Linked DNA regions of Homo sapiens: region 1 is linked to region 2. Evidence: promoter capture Hi-C in human tissues and cell types (Jung and others, 2019). All regions are on one chromosome and are shown on one strand. Each heading gives the region's core, a stretch centred on a gene start or on the middle of the fragment in contact. The rest is flanking DNA. Distances are from core to core; before and after follow the strand shown. Region 1 overlaps LOC105371244 (a long non-coding RNA gene). Region 2 holds the start of C16orf78 (chromosome 16 open reading frame 78).

Region 1 (6,027 bases), core at 2,290-4,789, 38 kb after region 2:
GCTCCTCAATGGTGAAGCTATTCTAGTTCCTTCCACCTCCCAGAGGCAGAGGCTAAACCTAAGTCCCTTAAGGCCTGGCGCATGTCCTCCAGGTGTGCAATGACTGTGGCAGGGCGTGGCCTTGTGCAGCTGCTGGAGTAAATTTCTCCCCTTCCATTTCTTTCCCTCCTCTTGCCCTTCCCCTTCCCCTTCCCTTCCTGCGCCACCAGGTGGGGCTCTATCACAGCAGAAGGCTACTCTCCTGACGGTGTCCACGCTGTCTGGCCCGGCTGCTGGCAGAGCCGTCAGCCTATCCAAGGGGAAGCCGGGCCCTCGAGCCTAAGCCTCGGGTAGATGAACACAAGCCCAGCTACTCACTAACATCACTTTTCTGAGACTTCAATTCTTTTCCTCCAAATCGGGGCAAGAAATGCAAGTTAAAATAACCATGAGGTACCACTCTATGAGACTGAAACATGTTAGAAAGCTAGGGAAGGCCAATGTTGGCACAGACGTGGAAACGAAGGAAGCTTCATGCCTTGCAGTAGGAGTGTGGGCCACTGCAGCCGCTCTAGGTTAAATTACACATGGACACTGCAGGGACCTAGCAAGCAGCCCCACTCCTGGACGTATATTCCAAAGTTCTATCCCAGGAGATCTATTTAAGGACACTAGCACTGGCAGGAATGTCTGGGTGCTGGTGGATGGCAAAACAAGGTGAGTGAAAAAGATGGGAAACAGGATGAGAAGGGACACTCTAGTCTTAACACAAACTGAAAATACACACATACAACAACACACTGCTTACAAGAACACATGCAAATACATTCAGACAGCTGGAAAAGGATTGGGAAGGGAAGAAGGAAGAAATGAAGGAAGGAAGGGAGGAGAAATAAAATGTGAAAGAAAATACCAAGTTTCAAGTGTTGGCGTGAAAAGAAGAATCCAAGGGAAGTTTCAAGAGTCTCTAGCACTTAGCAGGCACCCAGGAAATTTTCATTTTCTACATGTGCCTTTAAGCACTAACATTTATTGAGTGCCTACTGTGTTTTAGGCAATGTGCCAGGCTTCGTAATACAGTAATGAACAAAGACCAAAAAATGAAAATTCCTGCCACTGTAGTAGCTTTGAGACTTATTCCACAAACTTGAGTATAGGAGAAATGGCAGAGCCCCCTAAATCAAATCACTAAAAATCTGATTTCATGCCCCTGTTGAGCTGGACTGGTGGAAATTCAATTTCCATCCCTTAGTGGGGCTCCGTCTCTTACACCCCCAAGGTCCTGGACAGAGCAATACCTTGGGGTAGGTGCCAACCTATACTGGTCACTGCTGAATTGCTGCAGGTCACAGCCCAAAAAGTTCACAAAGTCTCCACTCACAACAACCACTTCTCTACCCCCTACCCCCACCACTGCCATGCTTTCTTCTGAGGCTTATGCCTTCCTCTCACCCCAGTTCTCACCTCAAAGAGCATGGGCTTCCAGACCAACACAGGCAGGCTGTCTGCAGATCCCTTCAACTCCCTGCTTGGCAGCAGAACCTTTCTGTGGCAGGTAACTGAGCGCAAAGCTACTCTCCTCTGGGAAGGTGGGCAAGGGAGGGAGACAGAGAACAAAGGTCATCAATCTCAGGCTTTCAAAATCTTCTCCAAGACGATGAACAAAACACAAGTCAAAATCACAAGAAGCAGCCCTGACTTCATTCTTATTTCTAGGATTTTAATTTACCCAATATGCACTGGTTGAGCACTTACTGAATGACGTGTGTTCCAGGGCCTAATATGAGTGGTGTGGTTTCTGATGACATGTGAAGATGATGCTAGCAATGGCTGCACCTAACTTTGGCAAAAAAAGGAAAATATATGTGCATGTGTATATGTATGTATGTTTATATATGTATTGGTGCATGTGCATGTGGTGTGCATACGTGTGTGTTTATATGTATATATGTATATACGTATATGTGTGTGTGTGTTCCTACGTGTGTGTGCGTGATGTCAAGTAGCTTCTGGAAATCAGTCCAATCATTTCCTGGTCTAGTCTCTCTGGTTCAAGATACAAATTCCAGAAAGAGGGTCTCATTGTCCTCTCTAGGGTCAAGGCCCCCATCCCTTGGCCCAGGGAAGATGGAGCACCTAAAGTGCCAGTTCTACCAAGGCCACACACAGTGGACGAAGGGTAGTTTCTGAGGAGAACTGAGATACTTATTGGTTCTTTTGCTGGCTAATAATTTCTCCCCAAACAATAACAAATATGTATCATCCCACATGGTTCCTGTGGGTCAGGAACACAGTGGGGTAGCTGGGTCTGTGATGAGGTTGGTGTCAATCTGTCAGCAGAGCTGCAGTCATCCAAAGGACTGGCTGGGCTGGAGGATCCGTTTCCAAGGTGGCTTAGTCTCACAGCTGGCCAGCTGGTGCTGGCTGTTGGCTGAAGGTTTCAACACCTCTCCACATGGGCCTCTTCATGGGGCTACTTGAGTGTCCTGACAACATGGCGGTTGGCTTCGCCTGAGCAACCAGCCCAAAAGGGAACAGGGCAGAAGCTAGAGGGCCCTTGTTGCTGTCCCCTGGGAAGTCACACACCCTGCTGCATTGCCTCACTTCTGTAATGTCCTGTTAGTCACACAACTCAGCCCTGGTCAGTGTGGGAGGGAACAACACAAGGGTGTGGAGACCAGGAGCCAAGCATCACTGGGGGCCATGGTGAGGACTGGAGACCACAGGTGCCATTACAGAAGGAAGCAGACCTGGAGGCAAGGCAGGCAGGAATGACAGATACTGACCACAATGATGATGTCTTTGGAGCTCACAGTCTAGAGGAAGACAGAAGAAAACAATGCCCTCGTTAATTCATAATTACTCACCTAAGAACACCCTAGTAATGGGGGGAAAAAAAGAGGGTAGGACCCAAGAAGGGGCAGCAACTGACCTTCTCTGGAGGAGTCACAGGGGTACTTGCAGAGGTGGTGACATTTGCATTGGACCTTGTAGGGAAATAAAAGGTGGGATGAGGGCACCCCAGGCAAAGGCGGGAGATGGGAAGTGGGTGGAATCTAGCTTTGCTGAGTGGTTGAATGGGGACAGCACAGGAGAGTGGGCAGAAAAAGACTCTCAAGCTTCCCAAGCCCCACCTGCCTGTGGGGGACCTACTCCCAGGCCCTCCTCTGCTTCCTGCCCCCACAACTCAAGATCTCTGGCTGCCAAGGGAGAATGGGCCTGGTTTCTCTGCAACCAGGACCCATCTTCCCCAGTGAACTGGCCCTCTAGGAGGACAAGTTATGGGCCCTGCCCTTCTGGGAGAAAGGCCTGACTCCTGCTGGGCCCTGCCACCCACCCCAGCTGAGAGTCAGGGGACAGGGGAGTGGAGCTCTCTGTTTCCCGGAGTCACTGGGTCTTGGCCAGCCCCACCATTCCGTGCCCCTTTCTGGGATTGGTAACAGCCAGTCAGGGTCCTGCCATTGCACTTGGCCATTCCTGAGCTCCCCCAATCCCCTGCTACAACACACACACAAATTCCTACCCGCTCCAGGCCAGCTGGGATCAGCTTCAGCAGGGCCGGCTCGAGCCACTTTGCTTAAGGCATCAGCCTCCCCAGGGTGCATTAGGCAGGCTTCACTGGCCAGAGAAGGACCACCTTGTAGGGAAACGGGCTCCAGGGGTTCAAATCCCCAAAGGGAAGGGGCTGCCTGGCCCCAGCTGTAGAAACAACAAAGGAGTGCAGCACACAGTGGCCCCTCCCTCCTCACCCATGCAGGCAGTGATGCCACGCTGCATCCTAAATGTTCAAGGCCAGAGTCACGTGCATGCCTCCCATGGGCAGGGCTCAGTACCCAGGACCTCAGGCCCCCTCCCCACAGGGCCCCAGCAGTGGAGAGGCTGCCACCCTGGACCCAGGCAGGAGGGGAGGAGCAGCTGCCCACTCCCGGCATGCACCCTCTGGGCCCCGCACTGAACACCAGCCTGCTAGCATCCCCCAAACCAACCCGAATCCAAGATAAAATTCCCCCTGGCCCCCAAGCTCAGGAGGGCAGTCTGTGTCCCAGAGCCTTCAAAAGCTCCAGAAAAGTGAAACCTCTGCTTGAACAGCTCCCAGCCCTGCAGCAGAGAAAAGGGGAGAAATCACACCAATAATCACCACTGGCAGCGTTTGCCTCTGAGCTACAAAATGTTTTCACTTATTTTCCACCATCAGATGCCCACTGCAACTCTGCAAAAGGAAAGATTTTATCCTTATTTTACTGATGGGGAAGCTGATGCCCAGAGAAGGGAAGGGACCTGTCCAAGTGCACAGTTAGGAAGCTACCGAGCCAGCATTAAGCCAGGCATTTTGATGATAAACCTGGGTCCTCTTTAAATCACTCATTTACTCAAGCATTCAGTCAACTTGCAGCAAACATGCACTGAGCTCTTCCCACAGGACAAGGGATGGGCTCACCACCCCACTGCAATGATGAGCAAAGACAGACATGGTTCCATAAGTTTACAGCTTAGTTGGGGAAACAGTCCTTAAATAAGCCTTTAAAAATATGTAATTGCAAGTGAAAGAGCACTGTGAAGAAAAGAATGATTTAAGTCATTAAAAAAAAATCAGAGGAGGAGTGACTTCCCCCAAAGGGTAACCAGAAAAGAGTATTCTGAGGAGGTACTTTGAAACCATATCAAGGCACAGCAGAAATGAGTATCAGGATTGATTAATAATGTCTGCCATGGTCACTGGATTCAGAAGTGGTGGCATGCATGCCAGATACTTGTTTATCTGGTTTATGCCCTCACTAGGATCCTTGATATCCAAAAAGAACTAGACATAATTTTAATTCTCCTGGAATTCACCATGATGTAGAGTAGATAAACATTAGAGAAGAAGTCATAATACAAAACAGCTCATTGGCTTCATTAATAGAAAAATCAAGGAAGTAAAATACAGCCAGTGAGGGAGTAACTGGTACCCAATAGGGTGATGCTAGCAAGGCTTGGAGGACTCTTTCCATGGGACATGGGAGCTTGTTGAAAAGAAGGCCCTCCTTTTAAAGAGGAGAAGGCACTTAGCACCAGAGGATGTTGAGACATTTCTGTCTATGGCCTAAGTTGGGGAGACAGCTGGCTCCTGCTCTGACCTCCTCTACATTCCTAAGAATTCCAGGTACAGTCCCTGCCTGGAGATACTTCTCCACCAGCACTCAGAGCACCAGCCTCGCCTCAGACCCACCATGAGAACTGACCTTCTTCCATCAGTCCCCCTAGGCTCAGCATCCCATTAAGTGTCCCATCAAGGCAGCTTATGGCTCCTTTTGCCACTGCTGTAGGGCAGCCTGCTCAAAACCCACCAGATGTAAAACAGCAACCTTGAGAAGCAATTGTTAGGTCTATCGAAATATTCAGAGCAGCCTGCACTTAAACTGTCGTTGCACTTATTCTGACTGTAATCAGTCATTTCTGTGGCTCTTAATTCATTGTCTGTAAGTACCAAGACAATGGACTGGGTATAGGATACTCACCCCCAGATTCCCAGTGCCTGGCACACAGTGAGTGGGCCACTCAACAATTTTATTGAATGAATGAACTATTCTAGAAAAAAAAAAAGAGTTGGGACAACATAGAGAGGCTGATAGTTTGGGTCTTGCCCCAGGGGATAAGCAGGCCTCCAGGTTTCAGGGTGGTCAGCAGAGGGTGACAGCACTATGGTGGCAGTTTCTCTTGAGTTCTGCTCCTGAGCCTCAAGGATGGAAGATCTCCAAGAGAGGGTGGTGAACCATATCATGTGCACCCTCTGGTCCACAGCCTGGCCACTTCATGCTGTTTGGAAGAGGCCATTACTTTCTTATTGTGCCCACTCTGTTGGTCTTGTGCCATCTGCTGGCACCTACCAGGCAGAACCCTTGTTTTGAAAGAGTTAAAAAGTCCTCTTGGGAGAGTAGACTAGAAAGACAGTCAATGAGATGGATCAAAGGAACATAGAATTGGAACTTACAAGAGCTCAGTGAAGATGGGCTCAGAAGGCTCCTGGGAGTCAGGTTGTCCAGGATGAGCAGACCTCAGACAAGTAGA
Region 2 (5,582 bases), core at 1,045-3,544:
AGTAAAAGGAACAGAACCATAGGGGCCAGTGGGACAACATCAAGCCAACAGATGTATAATGAGAAAACCAGAAGTAGAAAATAAAAAGGAAGGAGCAGAAAACATATGGAAAAACCAGTGGCCAAAAACTTTCAGAATTTGACTTAAAAAAAAATTAAATACACATCCAAAATGTTCAATAAACCTCAAGTAGGATAAATATGTAGAGATCCACACCTAGACAAATCATAGGCAAGCAGTCAGAAGACAGAAAGAAATAGAAAAACAAGCAAGAGAAAAATGACTTATTACTACAAGAGGCAAAAATGCAGTTAACAGCTGGCTTCCCATATAAAACAATAGAGGGCAAAAAGCAATCAAATGAAAAAACTGTTAACCAAGAGTTCCATTATCCAGAAAATCTTTCTTCAAGAATGAAGGTAAAATAAAGACATTACCATATAAACAAAGACAAAATAATTCATTATTTCTAAAATCTTACAAATATATTGCAAAATTAATAAATCCAGATGTAAAATATCACATGCATATTATTTGGTTTATATTTAACTCAATAACAGGAAGAAAAAGTTTGATATTGGATAATAAGGCCGGACACGGTGGCTCACGCCTGTAATCCCAGCACTTTGTGAGGCCGAGACAGGTGGATCACGAGGTCAGGAGTTCAAGACCAGCCTGGCCAACATGGTGAAACCCCGTCTCTACTAAAAATACAAAAATTACAGTGCGCCTGTAATCCCAGCTACTCAGGAGGCTGAGGCAGGAGAATCGCTTGAACCTGGGGGACGGAGGTTGCAGTAAGCCGACTCTAGCCTGGGTGACAGAGCGAGACTCTGTCTCAAAAAAAAAAAAAAAGAAATTGGATGATAAGATGATGTTTACCCTTGGAGGGTGGTAATAACTACCAGGGGCTGTATGGAAGATTCTGGGGTACTGGTTACATAGATGTCTTCATTTGTGATTCTGGCACATTTTTGTATATATAATTTCCTTCAATAGAAGTTTACTAGAGCAAAAAAGGGAAGCCTGACCATGCCACTCCCTCCCCTTTTTTTGAATTCCTTTATTGTTTTCCTTTGCTCCCTTTCCCTTCCCAGTCTGAGCAGAACCTGTGGCTACCAAGTTCCTGGATGGCCTGGCCTCTGGCCACCTCTGTACCATTGCCTCTTTGCCTCTGGTACTCTAGTCACCCTTGCCTTCTGTTGTTAGTGCCATGCCTCCCGCTTGTCACAGGGCCTTTGCACAGGCATATTTCTCTGGTCCAAAGCCCTTATCTTAATCCATTTGGGCCTATGACAAAATACCACAAAGTGGGTAGCTTATAAACAACAAACATTCATTTATCACATTTTTGAAGCCTAGGAAATCCAAAATTAAGGCTCTGACAGATTCCGTTGTCTGCTGAACCCATTTCCTGGTGACACCTTCTCACTACATCTTCACATGGTGGAGCTCTCTCTAGTCTCTTCTGCAAGGGCACCAATTCCAATCATGAGAGAACTGCTCTCATGACCTAATTACCTCCCAAGACCCCACCTTTTAATGCCATCACCTTGGGGGTTAGGATTTCAGCACATGAATTTTGGAGGGACAGAAATGTCCAGACCATAACAGCCCTGTTGAAGTCTATTTATCCTTTAGCTCAGAGCTCAAAGGTGGCCTACCCACCACCCCATCCAAGTCTAGTACCATTGATATGGCCTTTCATAGAACTACATTCCTTTCTTTGAAAGCACTCATCTTCACTTGTCATTATGAATTCATACGGTAATTATCTGCCCTGTCTTTTCCACTAGCCCATATGTCTTAGGAGGTTTGCCTATGTTTTTTTCCTGCATTGTATCCCCAGCACCATTCCCAATACTTAGTAGGTGCCTGATAACCACATGTTGGATGAATAAATGAATATAGACGAATTGGGCTTATAAAAAGCTTTCTTCTAATTAGAGTACACTACAGAAAGATAGGATGCCAAACTAAAGAATTCAGATTTCTTTTAGATAGGCAACAAGGAGCCATTGAAGGTTTTTGAGAAAGGAAGATGCGTGGACAGACCTTTATTTTATTAAGATCTCTGTGGAGGTAGAGGTGGAGAGGCTGCAAGGAGGCTGTGGCAGAGTCCAGAGGAGACATAGCGCCTGAAGAGGGGTAGTGGCCACATGGAGAACAGTGGGAGGTGGCCAATGTCCCACCTCCACTCTGACCTCAGGGCCAGCTACCAAGACGGGCAATGACTTCACAATCACTGCCCAGGCCTTCCACCTTTTAAGGCCAATATCCCAGGGTCTTGGCTCACTCTGCCCTTTATGTTCACATCTGGAGGCCACACCCTACCTTCTAAGTCACCAGGCCATCAAGTCCAGACAAAGGGATCGAAAGAGTGAGACAGTGCCAGCCACCTCCCACCCAAGCCACTAGCAAGACTCCACAATGTCAGAGCAACAAATGGACCTGAAGGATTTAATGCCCACAAAGAGGAAATACATGTGGAAGACTGCTGAAGATAGGCGCATGTCTGACCTCACCTGTGTGCTGGAGTGGCTGGAGCGGAGGCAGGGGAAGAAGAAACAAGCTCCCGAGGTGGGTACCATCCAAGAGAAATGGCAGGAAGACTTTACTCAAGGTAGTTGCAGTAGGGGAGAGAGATTGAACTTAACTCTCCTGAAACAAAAGGCGGGATGGTTTTGAAGTGCTGGGATAAGCTAGTGAGAACTACCCAAGGACATTAAGGGGGTGGGGGAATTAGTTAATATGATTAGGCTGTCTGTGTTGCTAATTCGCACTTATAAATGTTAGGCTCCCATCCTCTCACAGAGACTGAGAGACAAGGTACAATCTTTCTTGATGATTACATTTCAAAGGGTCCTCCCAGGTCCTTGAGAAAAACATTCCTGGATTGTAAAACTAGCAAGAGACTGAGAGATTTACATCTCAAAGGGGCAGAGAAAAAATTTACAAATCCAAGTTTTCTAGAGGAAATGCTCTAAGGAAAAGGAGGCCAAGGGCCTATCATCAGGAAGAAACCTGTCTAAAGTTTAGTCAAGCTGGGCAAATGTTAGTATTGGTCAGAATTCTAGAAGGGCCAAGGGGCAGTGGCTTCTGGGTCTCCATATTGCAGGATGGGATCCTCCTACTGCCCTCAGCTCTTCTCTCCTTGTGATGCCTTCAGAATCAAAGAACATTCATTCCTCACTGCCATTACTGCAACTGCAACTCCAGCTAACATACCTCCTCTTTTCTACCCTACATCGAGCTAGTTCTAACCCACCCTTTCCTCTTTCTCCAAGAAATGTAGCAACCAAGTTTGCCTTAGTTTTTCCCAGAGCTCCCCCAAGACCTATCATCTATGAAGAACCAAGCCATGTCTTTGGAAAGTGGTGTCCTCTGCAGAAGATGCCACCTGGTCTTGAATCTCCTGACCCTAGAGCAAAATGAGTAAAAAATGCCATTACTAATAACAATGCTCAACACATCACTAACTTTTAATGTTTACTGTGGTCAAGGCCCTGTGCTTAGATTTGTACCTGGGTTATGTGGTCAATTGCTCCCAGTCAGGCTACCAGGGAGGCACCATTTTTACCCCTAGTTGAAGGATAAGGAAAGTGAAAATAAGTCATTTTATTGAAGTCACAGAAGTAATAAAGGGCAGAGCCAGGGCTCAAACTGAGGTTTTCCAATTCCCAAATGCATAGACTCCTCTGCTTTATCCAGGTCAGCACCTGCCTTTGGGGAAAGCTTCCATTATGTTTGTGTGCTTACTTACTGTATTAGTCCATTCTCATACTGCTACAAAGAAATACCTGAGACTGGGTCATTTATTTAAAAAAAAAATAAAAAAAAATGTTTAATTGGCTCATGGCTGTACAAGAAGCATAGGAGATTCCACTTCTGGGGAGGTCTCAGGAAGCTTACAATCATGGCAGAAGGCAAAAGAGGAGCAGGCACTTCACATGGCAAGAGCAAGAAGTGGGAGGACGAGGTGCCACACACACTTTTAAATGACTGGATCTCACGAGAACTCTCGCCTTCATGACAGTACCAAGGGGAATCGTGTTAAACCATGAGAAAGTGCCCCTATGATCTAATCACCTCCCACCAGGCCCCACCTCCAACACTGGAGATTACAACTTGACATGAGATTTGGGGAGAGACGCAGATCCAAACCATACCACTTACCATTTATAGTCAGAAAGATCTCGAGTGCCAATTCCATCAGACACATCTGACAAACATATTTTACTCTAAGGTGCTAATGATTTACAGATAGCCTACCCACTGCCTTGATTTGGGGGCGAAGGGGAAGCTTGACTTCTGGGTCTCTCCAAACTCAATTTAATATCATCACAGGAATTACATTCACTTCCCTGGTTAATATGTTCAGGTCTATCTCCTTTTACCAGGATAAGATTCTAATAATCACATTTTAACAACTTTACCTTAAATGTGGCTTTTATTGTAAATAACTTTGGACCTAGAGAGGGAGCAAGTTTACATGGGAAATATAATTAAGTCTTCAAGCATCATTACCTTTCCCAGAAGCATCTGGGCTTTTAAAGAAGCTTCTAAGAGGAAGATGATGTGTGCTGGCAGGTCTCCGACAGCAGCAGGTGATGGGGGACCCTCTGGTGAGATGGTTGGGGTCTATCTTCACCACTCAGGGCCCTCTGTGACCTCCTCTGTTCTCTCCTGGGGTCTGACCTGGCCATCCAGGCTCTTCCCCCAACAGACTGCTCATGGTATTTCCCCCTTGTGATCCATTTGGCATCAGCGAAGACCCCTGAGGTCTGAAGTCTCAGCCATGGAGGATGCTGAATCCTTGAATGTTGCAGTTTCCTTGAGTCTAAAGCATCGCCATGTCAATTCCGCTCAGCTTCCCCAAAATGGGGGCTGTGTGGGGAGCTACTCAGGTGACTCTTTGAGGGAGGCTGAGGATTGAGTGGGGGATGGTGGAAGGGGCTGCCCTGGAGGAGATGGGTCATCCTAGCTCCTCACAGCCTGAAAATGCAGCCTTGGCTCTGAGTTGCACTGTTTCTCCACTAAACCAAACAAAACCCTAAAGCTAACCAGCGTTACCTTCCTTAGAAGGCAACTTGCAACATGGAGCAGGCCCTTGGACAGCTTCCTTCCATACTCCCAAATGGCTTATCGAAACTTCCCTTCCACCCACCCCGCATAATAACCTGCCTCCCATAATTCATGGAGGGCATTGCACATGCATGTCGTAATTCAGTTATTGCTCTCAGTAACCTTATGAAGTAGGTCCTACTATTATCCCCACCTTTCAGACAAGGAAACTAAGCCACAGAGAGAGCAGAAACTTGCCGAGGTCACTCAGCCCTCAGCCGTGGATAGAGCAGGAATCCAGGCAGTCTGACCTGGACACTGCAGTCCAGGCCACCGTCTCCCTGTAACCATAAGCAGCATATTCCCAGAGGAGATCCAGTCTATTTAGTTTCTGCCATGATGCTCTGGCACCCACCCCTAACCCTTATAGACTAGGCAGAATGCTTCCTGGGTGGCCCACCCTTTAAGTGCTTCTGCTGGGCTCCTGGACTGTGGGACCCTGGAGATCCCTAATGACC

What was found. The method cuts DNA at HindIII sites, captures the fragments that hold promoters and counts their contacts. A contact is called where the count stands out against the background at its distance.
Region 1: a contact is called between a fragment that was not itself captured here and the fragment with the promoter of C16orf78 in region 2, in 1 of the 25 tissues and cell types used here (pancreas).

What each region holds. Positions count from the first base shown.
Region 1 is chr16:49,407,906-49,413,932 of GRCh38, forward strand. It overlaps LOC105371244 (a long non-coding RNA gene), which reads right to left. Exons shown (of 8, transcript XR_001752167.2): 4 at 3,503-3,678; 5 at 2,912-2,966; 6 at 2,766-2,795; 7 at 1,444-1,560. Among named protein-coding and RNA genes, the nearest start is that of C16orf78, 37 kb to the left of the region's middle. The HindIII fragment of the contact is 7,810 bases long and covers 1-6,027 here.
Region 2 is chr16:49,371,510-49,377,091 of GRCh38, forward strand. C16orf78 (chromosome 16 open reading frame 78) reads left to right here and starts at 2,295. Exons shown (of 5, transcript NM_144602.4): 1 at 2,295-2,580. The coding sequence starts at 2,431. LOC105371244 (a long non-coding RNA gene) reads right to left here. Exons shown (of 8, transcript XR_001752167.2): 8 at 815-3,421. RefSeq lists enhancers at 1,748-2,478, 2,479-3,209. The HindIII fragment of the contact is 5,141 bases long and covers 1-4,105 here.